3 separate regions of the Homo sapiens genome follow, and all the other regions are linked to region 2. Evidence: promoter capture Hi-C in human tissues and cell types (Jung and others, 2019). All regions are on one chromosome and are shown on one strand. Each heading gives the region's core, a stretch centred on a gene start or on the middle of the fragment in contact. The rest is flanking DNA. Distances are from core to core; before and after follow the strand shown. Region 1 has its middle 34 kb from the start of TNPO3. Region 2 holds the start of CALU (calumenin). Region 3 holds the start of METTL2B (methyltransferase 2B, tRNA N3-cytidine).

Region 1 (4,013 bases), core at 435-2,934, 350 kb before region 2:
GGAGGTGGAGGTTGCAGTGAGCAAAGATCCCACCACTGCACTCCAGCCTGGGCGACAGAGCGAGACTCCTTCTCAAAAAAAAGAAAAGAAAAGAAAAGAAAAGAAAAAAGAAATAAAGTAGAATATTGACACAATAGGCTTTTTAAAAAAACAAAATTTTCCCCACTGTTGAATGGTTTTCTCCTTCACTTTTCCTTTCCCAATGCTGCAGCCCACTTCTCTTCAACAACCTCACCTGAATCACACACATCAGAGCCAGAAGGGACCTAAAAGACCATTTGCTCCTGTGCTGCTCAAATTGTGCCCAATTGTCACTAGCACCAGAATCAGCTGTGCTTGTTAAAATGCAGATTCCAGGACCCTGACTCAGACGCCACTGGGTGGGTCAGAAACCTACATTTTAAATGGGCACGCACCCTCCTCCAGTATATACATGTGGTTATCCATGCGCACTAAATTTTGAGAAGTTCTTTAGTTCAGCTCTTTCCATTTACAAGGGAGGAACAAATCTCAGAGGTCAAGTGTCATGCCCAAGGTTATCCGGCAGAGTGGCAGCATCACTAGGACTGAAATCAAGACCCTGTACCCTGACCTCACATCAGGGTAAGTTTTTACTCCACGTTTCTGAGAGCCCTAGAGTTTTGAAGAGGTGCTTCAGAGGTTCTGCAAATATTTAATTGCAAAGTGACCTGTTTAAAAGAAAACAGAAATTTGGCATTTGCAACTTCTTATTATGTGAATCAGGATTTTAAAAAACCTTGTGGTTGCAAGGATCAGCCATCATGTTCATTTAATGTTATTGAGATCACTGCAAAAGTCCTACCTTTATTACTGGCTGACTTAGATAAAATAAACGGTTGAAATGCCACTTTTATTTATCTATTGGAATTCTTTTTAAAGTTTCATACGACAAAGCAATTCTACTGCTCTATATAAAATGTATTGGGCAATCACTAACTCTGCGAGCACAGTGTTAAGCACTGTGGAAATAAACAAAAACCACCCAAGTGAGAAGAAACAGAAGCTGTTTATTCAGCGCTTGCTTTAGCCAGGGTCTCAGCCACCATCACTCGCATTTGTCAGAGACTCAGGCAGGCAGGGCTGTGCAAAGCTTTATAGTGAAAAAAAGGGAAGTCTTCAGCTATGCCTTGATTGGAGCTTGTTGGCATGGGAAAGCTAGAGGTAGGCTGACTAGAAATTGAGCATCCAGTGTGATTGGATTGGGGACCATATTTGGCTTTCTGTGCTTGGTCCTGAGTTGGAAGTGGGGGCAGAAGTTAGGGCAGCTGCACTTACTGACTTGGTCAAGTTCTGACTGTTCTGGGATGATTGCTGCAGAGGCTGTGGTTTGGCTTCCTGGATGGGTTGCTGCAGAGGTTGTGGCCCAGAGTTCTATTGTCATATATGATCTGGCCATTGTCTGTTTGTATTTTCATTCTCTCAGCCTTATCTGCATTACTTCATCTAAGCCCTTTCACAACCCCATGAGATTGATAATATTATTATTTCAGCTTTGTGAATGAGAAATGGAATTGCAGAGAAGTTAGGTAACTTGGCCAAAGTCAGACAGTTATGAAGAGGTAAAGATAAAACTTGAACCTAGGCAGACTGACCTCAGAGCCCTGGGTTTCTGTCTCAGCTTTACAGGGAAAAAAAAATTATAGAAACTGACAAACTGTCTAAAAATTCCCATGAAAATGCAAAGGATCTAGATTAGCCAAAACATCTTTGAAAGAGAATAACAAAGTTGGAGGGCTAACACCACCTGATTTCAAGGCTTCATAAAAAATAATAGTCATCAAGATGAGGTGCTATTAACATCATGATAGACAGCTCAAATAGAACAGATCAAATGGAACAGAATAGAAAGTTCAGACACACATACACACACATATACAATTGATTTTTAAAAAGACCCAAAGGCAATGAGAAAGGATAATTTCTAATGAATAGTTTCAGTGAGTTGGGCTAGAACAGTTGGATAGCTATATGCAAAAAAAGAAAAAAAGAACTTCAATTCATACCTTATACCACGTATAAAAATTAAGTCAAAATCGATTATGCACCTAAGTGTAAAATCTAAAACTATAAAACTTCTAGAAAACATAGAAGTAAAATCTTTGTGACCTTTAATTAGATAATATGTCTTAGATATTACACTAAAAGCACAGTCAATAGGAAATAAATTTGATAAATTGGACTTCATCAAAATTAAAAACTTCTTTTCCTGAAAAGATGCCATGAGAAGAATGAAAAGACCAGCCACTGACTGGGAGAAAATATTTGCAAAGCCCATATCTGATAAAGGATGTGTATCCAGAATATATAAAGAACTTTGGAAATCAAATAAGAGCAAAGAATTCAACTTTTTTTCAAAAAGTAGGCAACAGATCTAAACAGTTATTTCACCAAAAAAATGGATGGCAAATAAGCACATGAAAAGATGTTCAACATTATTCACATTAAGGAAATATAAATTAAAATCACAATCAGAAACTACTGCATACCTATTAGATGTCTGATTAAAACCATGTGTTAATAAGAGTGCAGAGGAACTAGAACTCTCATACACTGTTGGTGGGAATGTAAAATGATAAAACCACTTTGGAAAACAGCTGATCAGTTTCTTAAAAAGTTAAACATACTTACCATATGATCTAGCCTTTCCACCTCTGTGTATTCACCCAAAAAAAGCACATATTCATACAAAGACTTGCACACAAATGTTCATAGTAGCTTTATTGTTTTCTTCCTCAACTTTATTGAGGCATAATTGACAAATAAAAATCATAGCAGCTCTTTTTTTAAGAGATAGGGTCTTGCTATGTTGCCCAGGCTGGACTCGAACTCCAGGGCTCTAGTGATCCTCCTGTCTCAGCCTCTCAGGTAACTGGGATTACAGGCAGGTGCCAGCACACCTGGCTTGAAGCTTTATTTTTTAATTTAATTTAATTTAATTTAATTTAATTTAATTTAATTTTTTGAGACGGAGTCTCACTCTGTCGCCTAGGCTGGAGTGCAGTGGCATTATTTTGGCTCACTGCAAGCTCCACCTCCTGGGTTCACGCCATTCTCCTGCCTCAGCCTCCCAAGTAGCTGGGACTACAGGTGCCGGCCACCATGCCCGGCTAATTTTTTGTATTTTTTAGTAGAGATGGGGTTTCACCGTGTTAGCCAGGATGGTCTTGATCTCCTGACCTTGTGATCTGCCTGCCCCGGCCTCCCAAAGTGCTGGGATTATAGGCGTGAGCCACCGCACCTGGCCTGAATTTTATTTTTTATTTTTATTATTATTTTTTATTTTTATTTTTATTTTTTGAGACGGAGTCTCGCTCTGTCGCCCAGGCTGGAGTGCAGTGGCGGGATCTCGGCTCACTGCAAGCTCCGCCTCCCGGGTTCACGCCATTCTCCTGCCTCAGCCTCCCAAGTAGCTGGGACTACAGGCGCCCGCCACTACGCCCGGCTAATTTTTTGTATTTTTAGTAGAGACGGGGTTTCACCGTTTTAGCCGGGATGGTCTCGATCTCCTGACCTTGTGATCCGCCCGCCTCGGCCTCCCAAAGTGCTGGGATTACAGGCGTGAGCCACCGCGCCCGGCCGAATTTTATTTTTTTTAGAGATAGTGTCTCGCTCTGTTGCTCAGGTTGGAGTACAGTGGCATGATCGTAGCTCACTGCAGCCTCAAAATCCTGGGCTTAAGTGATCTTCCCACCTCAGCCTCCTGTGTAGCTGGGATTACAGGTGCAAGCCACCATGCTGGGCTAATTTTTAAATTTTTTGTAGAGATGGGGTCTTGCTATATTGCCCAGGCTGGTCTCGAATTTCTGGCCTCAAGCCATCTTCCCATCTTGGCCTCCCAAAGTGCTGGGATTACAGGTGTGAGTACTTCACTGGTCTGCAGCTTTATTTTTAGTAGCCAAAAATAGGAGCCAATCCAATGACTCAATAAATGAATGGCTAGACAAACTGAAGTATATTCATATAATGGAATGACCTCAGTAAGTGAACATTTT
Region 2 (3,771 bases), core at 1,268-3,767:
TAAAAAACTTTTTAAAGAAAAAAGTTCTAGAAATTCTGAGAGAAAAAAGTTTCCTTTTCGTTGACAAGCCTTAATACATAATCAATTGTGAGAGAAATGCTATTTGAAATGTAGGGATAGGAGCCTTGGTTTCTAGTTGTAATTTTGCTGTGCATGTGTAACATGCGTGACACTGTTGAGAATTTGGTAGTTATTTTAGCTCAAACTTCCTTCAGTGCCAGATGTCTATAAATAAATTTAAGATCCTAGAAGACCTACCTACTATGATCACTCTAGCTGGAAGTGATCTGTTATCTTTTTCTCTTTTTGGACAAAAAGGGTATGATCCAATCTAAACTTCTATAAAACTCGTCTGAACCACTCAAAAACAATGACCATAGGTTACCTTAAGTTGTCTCCTTAGCTCCCCTTTAGAATCGACATTTCTGGAAGAATGTCTACATATCATTCTAATACAAATTATTACCCCTATATTGTCCCTAATACATTGTCTTGCACTTTTTTGATACCAATACATTTTACTGGATTAATACATCTTACTGAATTAATTGGGCGGTACTTGGCAGCAATGTGGTTCCTGCCTGCCTGTGTTCTCCAACTTCCAATTCCGTTTACTGGATCTGGCAATCAGCCAGGAACAGGCAAAAGTGTTATTTCAGCTGTCTTAACTCTAATACATAAATTACTGCATCAGCAACATCCATACTTAAGAGTTCAGAGAGTGAGAATCTAGGGCCTTGTGGCCTAGCTAGCATTTCCAGTGGCTATCCTTGGCTACACCTCTGTCCTTTCAATATCCCTGGTATACCTACGTTACAGAAAATCTGTGTTAACACCAATGTACTAGGGTGTGGTGTTATATACCTCTAGTCTCAGCTACTTGGGAGGCTGAGGCAGGAGGACTGCTTGAGCATGGGAGTTCAAGGCTCCACCTGGTCAACATACTGAGACCCTCAACTCTAAAATAAATAAATTTTAAAAAATAACACCAATATATAGATCCCAATACTGCTCTAATGGATATTAAGTGCTATCAATAAGTACTTCTTGACACATCACTGGATGAATGAAAACAAACAATGATTACATTGAGAGTGACAATGAGTTGGTTTCAAAGCTATATTGAGTACTATTCACTCAGGCATACTCAATACATTTTTGTGAGCTCATGGCTTTCCTACTTGTGATTCTCAAAAGAATCCTATTGGAACCCCCCCACCCCCCAATCACAGTAAAACCTCAGATTAGGTCTTGGCAAACTCATTTTCTTGACAAATACAACTTAGAGGTTATATCTGGTCCCTCATTTGGATTATACTATATAAATTCTTCAGTGATTACTGTCGTTTGGTATTTGGTTAATTAAATCTACTGAGTGAGGTCAAACTTGCATTTGTCTTGTGTCAAGTTCCATTCTATGGCAGACTAATTTAACAGAGATTCCAAGGTTCTCTGCCTCCAAGCTGAATAAGCTACTAGAACAAAAAACAACTAGAAGCCACCTTATTCCCAATTCATTAACGTTGACTTCATGGTCCACACCAGAAAATGAACGCAACTCAATTCTCGAAGACACTATTCTAGAATTTTATACACTTAGGAATTCAGATCACAGGCTCAAAAGTTTTAGCAGGAGACCCACGGAGCTTGGGCCTTGATGCAAAAGCAGCTTTTGAAACTGCAAGCCACTCTACGCTTAATCGCGGCAGCTATAGGGAATTAAGTTTATTTCTGACCGCAGCATGCTAAAAATCAGTAGGATATGGGGCTAGAAGCAACAAAAAACGTAACAAAAATTAATTCCCCAATAAAGCTTTAAAAACTATTTTCCGTCGCTAACTGAAGTACGTAGCCAAATATGGAAGCTCTAAACATTCAGCTTTTCTTTAAAATCATAGATATCACCTAGTGTCGTCACTCGTTCTCTCCCCCCTTGTTTCTGCACCCTTTAGGTGAGTGAACACGACCTTGGCAGATGCACCCTACTGTCGGGATGTGGCCTTGGGGCGGAGCTGGCAGATACAAGCAGGATGGTGAGTGGAGGCGGCAAGGAACTCTTACAATAACACTATCCAAATGCCCTCCGACCTTCCGGAGGCAAAAAATGACCCTCTGGTGCCAGAGACTCGGTGAGTGGCGTGACCTAGAGATGGAGGACCAGGACGCAGCAAACCAGGCACAGAACAGTACCCAACGGGACAGAGTTCCACCGGACCAGCCCCCTTCCCAGAGCGCGCGGTAAGACGGGCGGCGGCCTCCATCCCAGGCTGCACACAGAGGGTCCCGGGATCTCCAGCAGCATCAGGCCTGGGACCCGGGCGCCAGCAGAGACAGCGGCACCGAGTGAGGCAGTCCCCTGCCGCGCCAAGAACAAGACCGGGGACAGAAAGAAAGCGAATAAAGATGAGGCAGTGGTGAAGGGGCTGGGCATCACCGTACTTACCTTTCCTCGTAGCCCCCACAGCACAGGATGCCGTGGCCGCCGCTCACCCACCGGCTCAGCTCACGCGCGCAAGCACCGCCCAACCGGAAGCGGGTCCGCACCCCGCCCTCATCCGCCTCGCCGGCGGCCTCCCGACCAATCATCAGCAAACCCGCCGCTGTCGCATAGCGTCCCCGAGTAGCCATTGGTCTAACAATCGCATAGCCGGGATTGGCTGGAAAGCGCCACGTCCCCGGGACCGCGCCGAGTTGCGTGGAGCGGATTCCCGCCCAACTCTCGTCCCCGGGATTGTTGGGACGGCGGGCTCCAGCCCCAGCCCCAGCCCCAGCCCCGTACTGCGGGTGGCGTGGGCGCGGCCGTGTGGCCGCCACGTCCCCATTCACAGCTCATGACTCTGCTTCCACAGGGCTTCTTAGACTATCCTGCTAGTTATCTTCATTCCCACAAGACCACCAGGGCGGAATTAATCCGACTGAATCAGTCACCAACTTTATTGAACAATCCCAACTTTTTCTTTCCCTTCAGCGCTGCGCCCTGCGCTATCTACAGGAGGCTCTTCAGTCTTTGGCACCAGTGTATCTTTTAGCTCCATCTCCCAACACTCCCCCTCATCTTGCGCTCTGGGCACCATCATCTGTTTCCTAACAACCGGTCCTTTTTCATCTCTTAAGATTTTTGATCAAGAGGCTTCCTCTGCCAGGAATAAGTGCGTTTTCCTGATTTTCTGCCTTGCCAATAGAAGTCCCAGTTCAGATGTTAGCTCTAGAAGCCTTCCCTGACCTCACTAAGCATAATTCTTACCTTATTTACCATCATAGCTGTTTATAGCTTCAGTACACTTTGCCAAATTCTGCTATAAAATGTAGCTTATCCATCTGTCCTCTTCTAGAGTAAGCTCCTGGGTAGGTATCTGTCTATTCATCTTTATATCTGCAACTCTGAGCTTACTGCCCAGCTCAGTAATGTTAAGTGAAGGGAATGGGCCGAACCCGTTGCATGTCCCTGAAAATTTAATTTCATGTCATGAAATTAAAACAAATATCAAATAAAGGCTACTATAGCTTCAACACAAATGGAATGTAAACCTGTGGCATTCTTAGCACATAAAGCCTCTGTAGTTTAAAATCAAATTGAGACAAGTTGTAAACTCATGAAACAGTTAAGCTCATGAAAGCAAGCTAGTTACTGTCAACGTGAAAGGTTTACAACTAATCCTTCTGGCATTCAAAGGAGTGTCAGTGACCCTTGGTGGTAGTCAGGGAAGGCTTCAGAGGAAGATATGACTAAGGCTGGACTAAGGAAGTCCCAAATGGACTATTCAGCAAGAA
Region 3 (3,604 bases), core at 49-2,548, 260 kb after region 2:
ACTCCCTAAGAAACAGGATTTTAGTTCCACTACTGCTACTACTGACTGCTTACCTCTGGGAAAAGCACTTAATGTCCTGTGGTCCAAGTGTCTTTAACTATAAAAAGAGAATATTGAACCACATGATTTTCAAAATCCCTTTTAACTATTAACTTGCTTTGATCTAGTTGCTGTCAGACTATGCAGGGTGAATGTTTTGTAACTGGAACCTTTTTGTTGTACAGAACTCTTTCAGCAGGTACTAAATTTGTAGTGCTATCTTCAATTGTCTGGAACAATCAGTCCTAGTTTTACTATCTAGGGATATTTTGCAGTGAAATCATCAACCTCTCAAGCAGGGGCCTCCTTTTCTTTGGCCAGACTTATCTCCACTCTGCTGCATCCACCTTTCCTTGACTGAAGCCCTAAATTCTCATAACCATCACACAAGTAATAGACACACAGTCACCAGTCATTAGCCCCCCTCCCAACAATATTTAGAATCTAATCACTTAAATGAAGCTTCAATGGAAACATCTCCTCATGGAAAATGCAAATCATGTAAAAAGTACAGGTTCTAAGATGATCGCGTGACCACACAGTTGTCATTGGCTAGCCATATCAACGTGGATCTACTCAACATAATTAAAGACAAAATTACCCTCCTCCAAAGTAAAACTATATATTAAAAAAACCCTCTACGACTTAAGATTTTGTTACAATGCAGCCCTTTTCCCTCCTTGCTCATCCCCTCCCTGTCCTGCTCTACTCCTGAGATCCGCATCAGGCCAGGAATAAAGGATGTGGGCGGCCGCGGTTCCCTGGCCTCTCCGGGAGGGCGCGTTCGGCAGTACGCTGGCTGTTGATACCAACGAGAGCCCATTTAAGCGCACCTTGTTTCTCCTGGCACACCCGCTGGATACTGTTCTCCTGGACTTTTCTCTCCGCCGCCGCGGCTTGCTCTTCCGACCACTCCACATTGTCCCTGAGAAAATCAAACGGGCAGCTTAGGGGCTTCACGTCCTGGCTGCGAGCAGGGTGAGTCGCTGGCCTAGGAGTTTCTCTCCCCTTGGAGAGTGCCTCGGGTAGGGCAGCTTGACTCGTGGCCGGCGGTCAGGGGCTTTTCGGAATGCTCCGAGGCGGCGGGACAGACGGCCAGCGACAGGCCGGGCGAGGGGGCAGGGTGATTACCAGGCATTGTGGTGGAAGACGCGCGCCGGATCGCTCAGGAACCGGCTTCCGAACTGCTGCCTCTTATCGGCGAGGATTGCAGGTGCACCTTCAGGGTAGGAGCCGGCCATGACACCGGAGCCGGAAACACTTCACTTTCCGTAACGCGAGAACTTCCTGCGGGCCACGCCCTCTTTCAGAAGACGTGGAGTCTGGGCGGGAAAAAGGGTGGCGGGACAGGGCGGTCCTGGAGTCTGGTCCGGGTGGCGCTCGGGAGCTGTCGTTTGGGGCTTTCCCAGGGTTGGCGAAGGGCTCTCTAGGGAAGGGGACCAGGCAGGGGGAAATTCTCCCCGGAGGAGTCGTATCTCATTGATGAGGTGCTGATGGACGTGCAGGTTAGGCAGAAAGTGGGAGACATTCCACTTGAGGCCCAGTTCATTGCTGGGATCCTCTTAACAGGTTCCCCAGCTTCCCTCAAGTTGTAAAACAGGAATAATCTTGAATCATTATAAGAGTTGAGGCTACCTAGTTCCACTGCGGAGCCGATGTCCAGAACTGAAGAAGGTAGCAAGCAGCGGAAAGAAACAGGGCAATTTCCAGCTTCTATAGTCAGCTCTTCATAGTGTGGGTGTATATGTATACACAGTGTGTATATATATTTTGGTTGGGGTGGGGGAGATGGATATATGAAATTAGAGAACACGAGGCTTAGCAAATCAAATGGAATATCCAAGGACAATTTTTTTTTAATTATAACCATCTAACCTTTTTGAATCATCCATATTATATTTATTATAATTATCCTTATTAGCACAATTAAGATTGTAATACACACATACAGTTTGTCATAGTAATACATTTCAGCCTTACATTTCTATTTCTAGATCTAATACAAATAGACTCTCAAAAGAATCTAGAAGAAAGTATGTTATAGACATAAGGTTATTTGAGAAGACTTCCAAGAGAAGCATGATGAATACCACTTGGAAAAGAAGGAAAGGGCAGAGACCAAACAAGGACCAGCCCAATATCTCTTGGACTTTATTTAATGTCATAATGTCAGAATAAAGGGAAAGATGAATTTTTTTAAAAAAGGAAAGGGTTAGTGCAGTGCTAGACATAGCACATTGGTAATTAGTACTTTTTTTTTTTTTTTTTTGAGACGGAGTCTTGCTCTGTTTCCCAGGCTGGAGTGCAGTAGCTGGATCTCAGCTCGTTATAACCTCCATGTCCTGGGCTCAGGTGATTCTCCTGCCTCAGCCTCCTGAGTAGCCGGGATTACAGGTGCGCGCTACCACACTCGGCTAATTTTTGTATTTTTAGTAGAGATGGGGTTTCACCATGTTGCCTGGGCTGGTCCTGAACTCCTGACCTCAAATGATCTGCCCACCTCGGTCTCCCAAAGTGTTGGGATTACAGGTGTGAGCCACCGTGCCCAGCCAGTAATTGTTTATTCCATTGTAAATTCTTTCTGTAGGTAAAACTACAGGGAGCAATGAATGATTCTATACTTTTCCTCCAAAGAAATGGGAACAAGCTCTAAGCCTCTCTAATCAGGAAGAAAAATACACAAGTTAATCAAAAAGATAGTAAAGAAGTTGTACTTCATTTGAAGACAATATGCTTTTGCCATTCTTGTGGTCTTTGGAAACATTTTGAACACAAGCTCCATACCCAGAAACAAGTACAAGGAATTTTTATCTTTTCTCAAGGCCAGCTGTTTGCAGATATGGTGGTTGATTTACATTTATTTCTGGCATCTTGTTTTCTCATCTGTGGGCTTTTATTCTCCCCTCACTAAAAGCTGTTAGTGTTCCCAATCAACAGTCCCACTGGATATTTTCTTGCAGACAGCTCATTGTCTTCACTTGAATTTACTATATTAGTTCCAATGGAGACATTTTAAATGTCAAACAGCTTTGGCCTTTTTTCTATGAAATGTGCTAAAGTATCCTAAACTTAATTTTATTTTTTATTTTTATTTATTTATTTATTTATTTATTTTTGAGACGGAGTCTCGCACTGTCTCCCAGGCTGGAGTGTAGTGGCGTGATCTCGGCTCACTGCAAGCTCCCTACTTCCCGGGTTCACGCCATTCTCCTGCCTCAGCCTCCCGAGTAGCTGGGACTACAGGCACCCGCCACCATGCCCGGCTAATTTTTTGTATTTTTAGTAGAGATGGGTTTTCACCATGTTGGCCAGGATGGTCTCAATCTCCTGACCTCATGATCCGCCCACCTTGGCCTCCCAAAGTGCTGGGATTACAGGAGTGAGCCACCGCGCCCGGCCTAAACTTAATTTTATACAATTATATTTGATTGGCCTGTAAAACCTATTTTTCGAAGCACCTAAAATAATTTTGCATAAGTTTGACATGGCTGTGAGTTCTCTGGTGTCAGACTTTATACTGGATTGTAGCTTCAGAAACGCCACGTTTCAGAGGAACTAAGGGTCC

What was found. The method cuts DNA at HindIII sites, captures the fragments that hold promoters and counts their contacts. A contact is called where the count stands out against the background at its distance.
Region 1: a contact is called between a fragment that was not itself captured here and the fragment with the promoter of CALU in region 2, in 1 of the 25 tissues and cell types used here (IMR-90 fibroblasts).
Region 3: the fragment with the promoter of METTL2B here is called in contact with the fragment with the promoter of CALU in region 2 in 1 of the 25 tissues and cell types used here (aorta).

The regions. Positions count from the first base shown.
Region 1 is chr7:129,087,088-129,091,100 of GRCh38, reverse strand. No RefSeq gene overlaps it. Among named protein-coding and RNA genes, the nearest start is that of TNPO3, 34 kb to the right of the region's middle. RefSeq lists an enhancer at 1,094-1,243. The HindIII fragment of the contact is 6,650 bases long and covers 1-4,013 here.
Region 2 is chr7:128,738,105-128,741,875 of GRCh38, reverse strand. CALU (calumenin) reads right to left here and starts at 2,517. Exons shown (of 7, transcript NM_001219.5): 1 at 2,444-2,517. RefSeq lists an enhancer at 2,181-2,280 and silencers at 2,561-2,700, 2,771-2,910. The HindIII fragment of the contact is 3,801 bases long and covers 877-3,771 here.
Region 3 is chr7:128,474,442-128,478,045 of GRCh38, reverse strand. METTL2B (methyltransferase 2B, tRNA N3-cytidine) reads right to left here and starts at 1,298. Exons shown (of 9, transcript NM_018396.3): 1 at 1,171-1,298; 2 at 873-964. The coding sequence starts at 1,280. RefSeq lists enhancers at 1,022-1,191, 1,412-1,461. The HindIII fragment of the contact is 14,580 bases long and covers 1-3,604 here.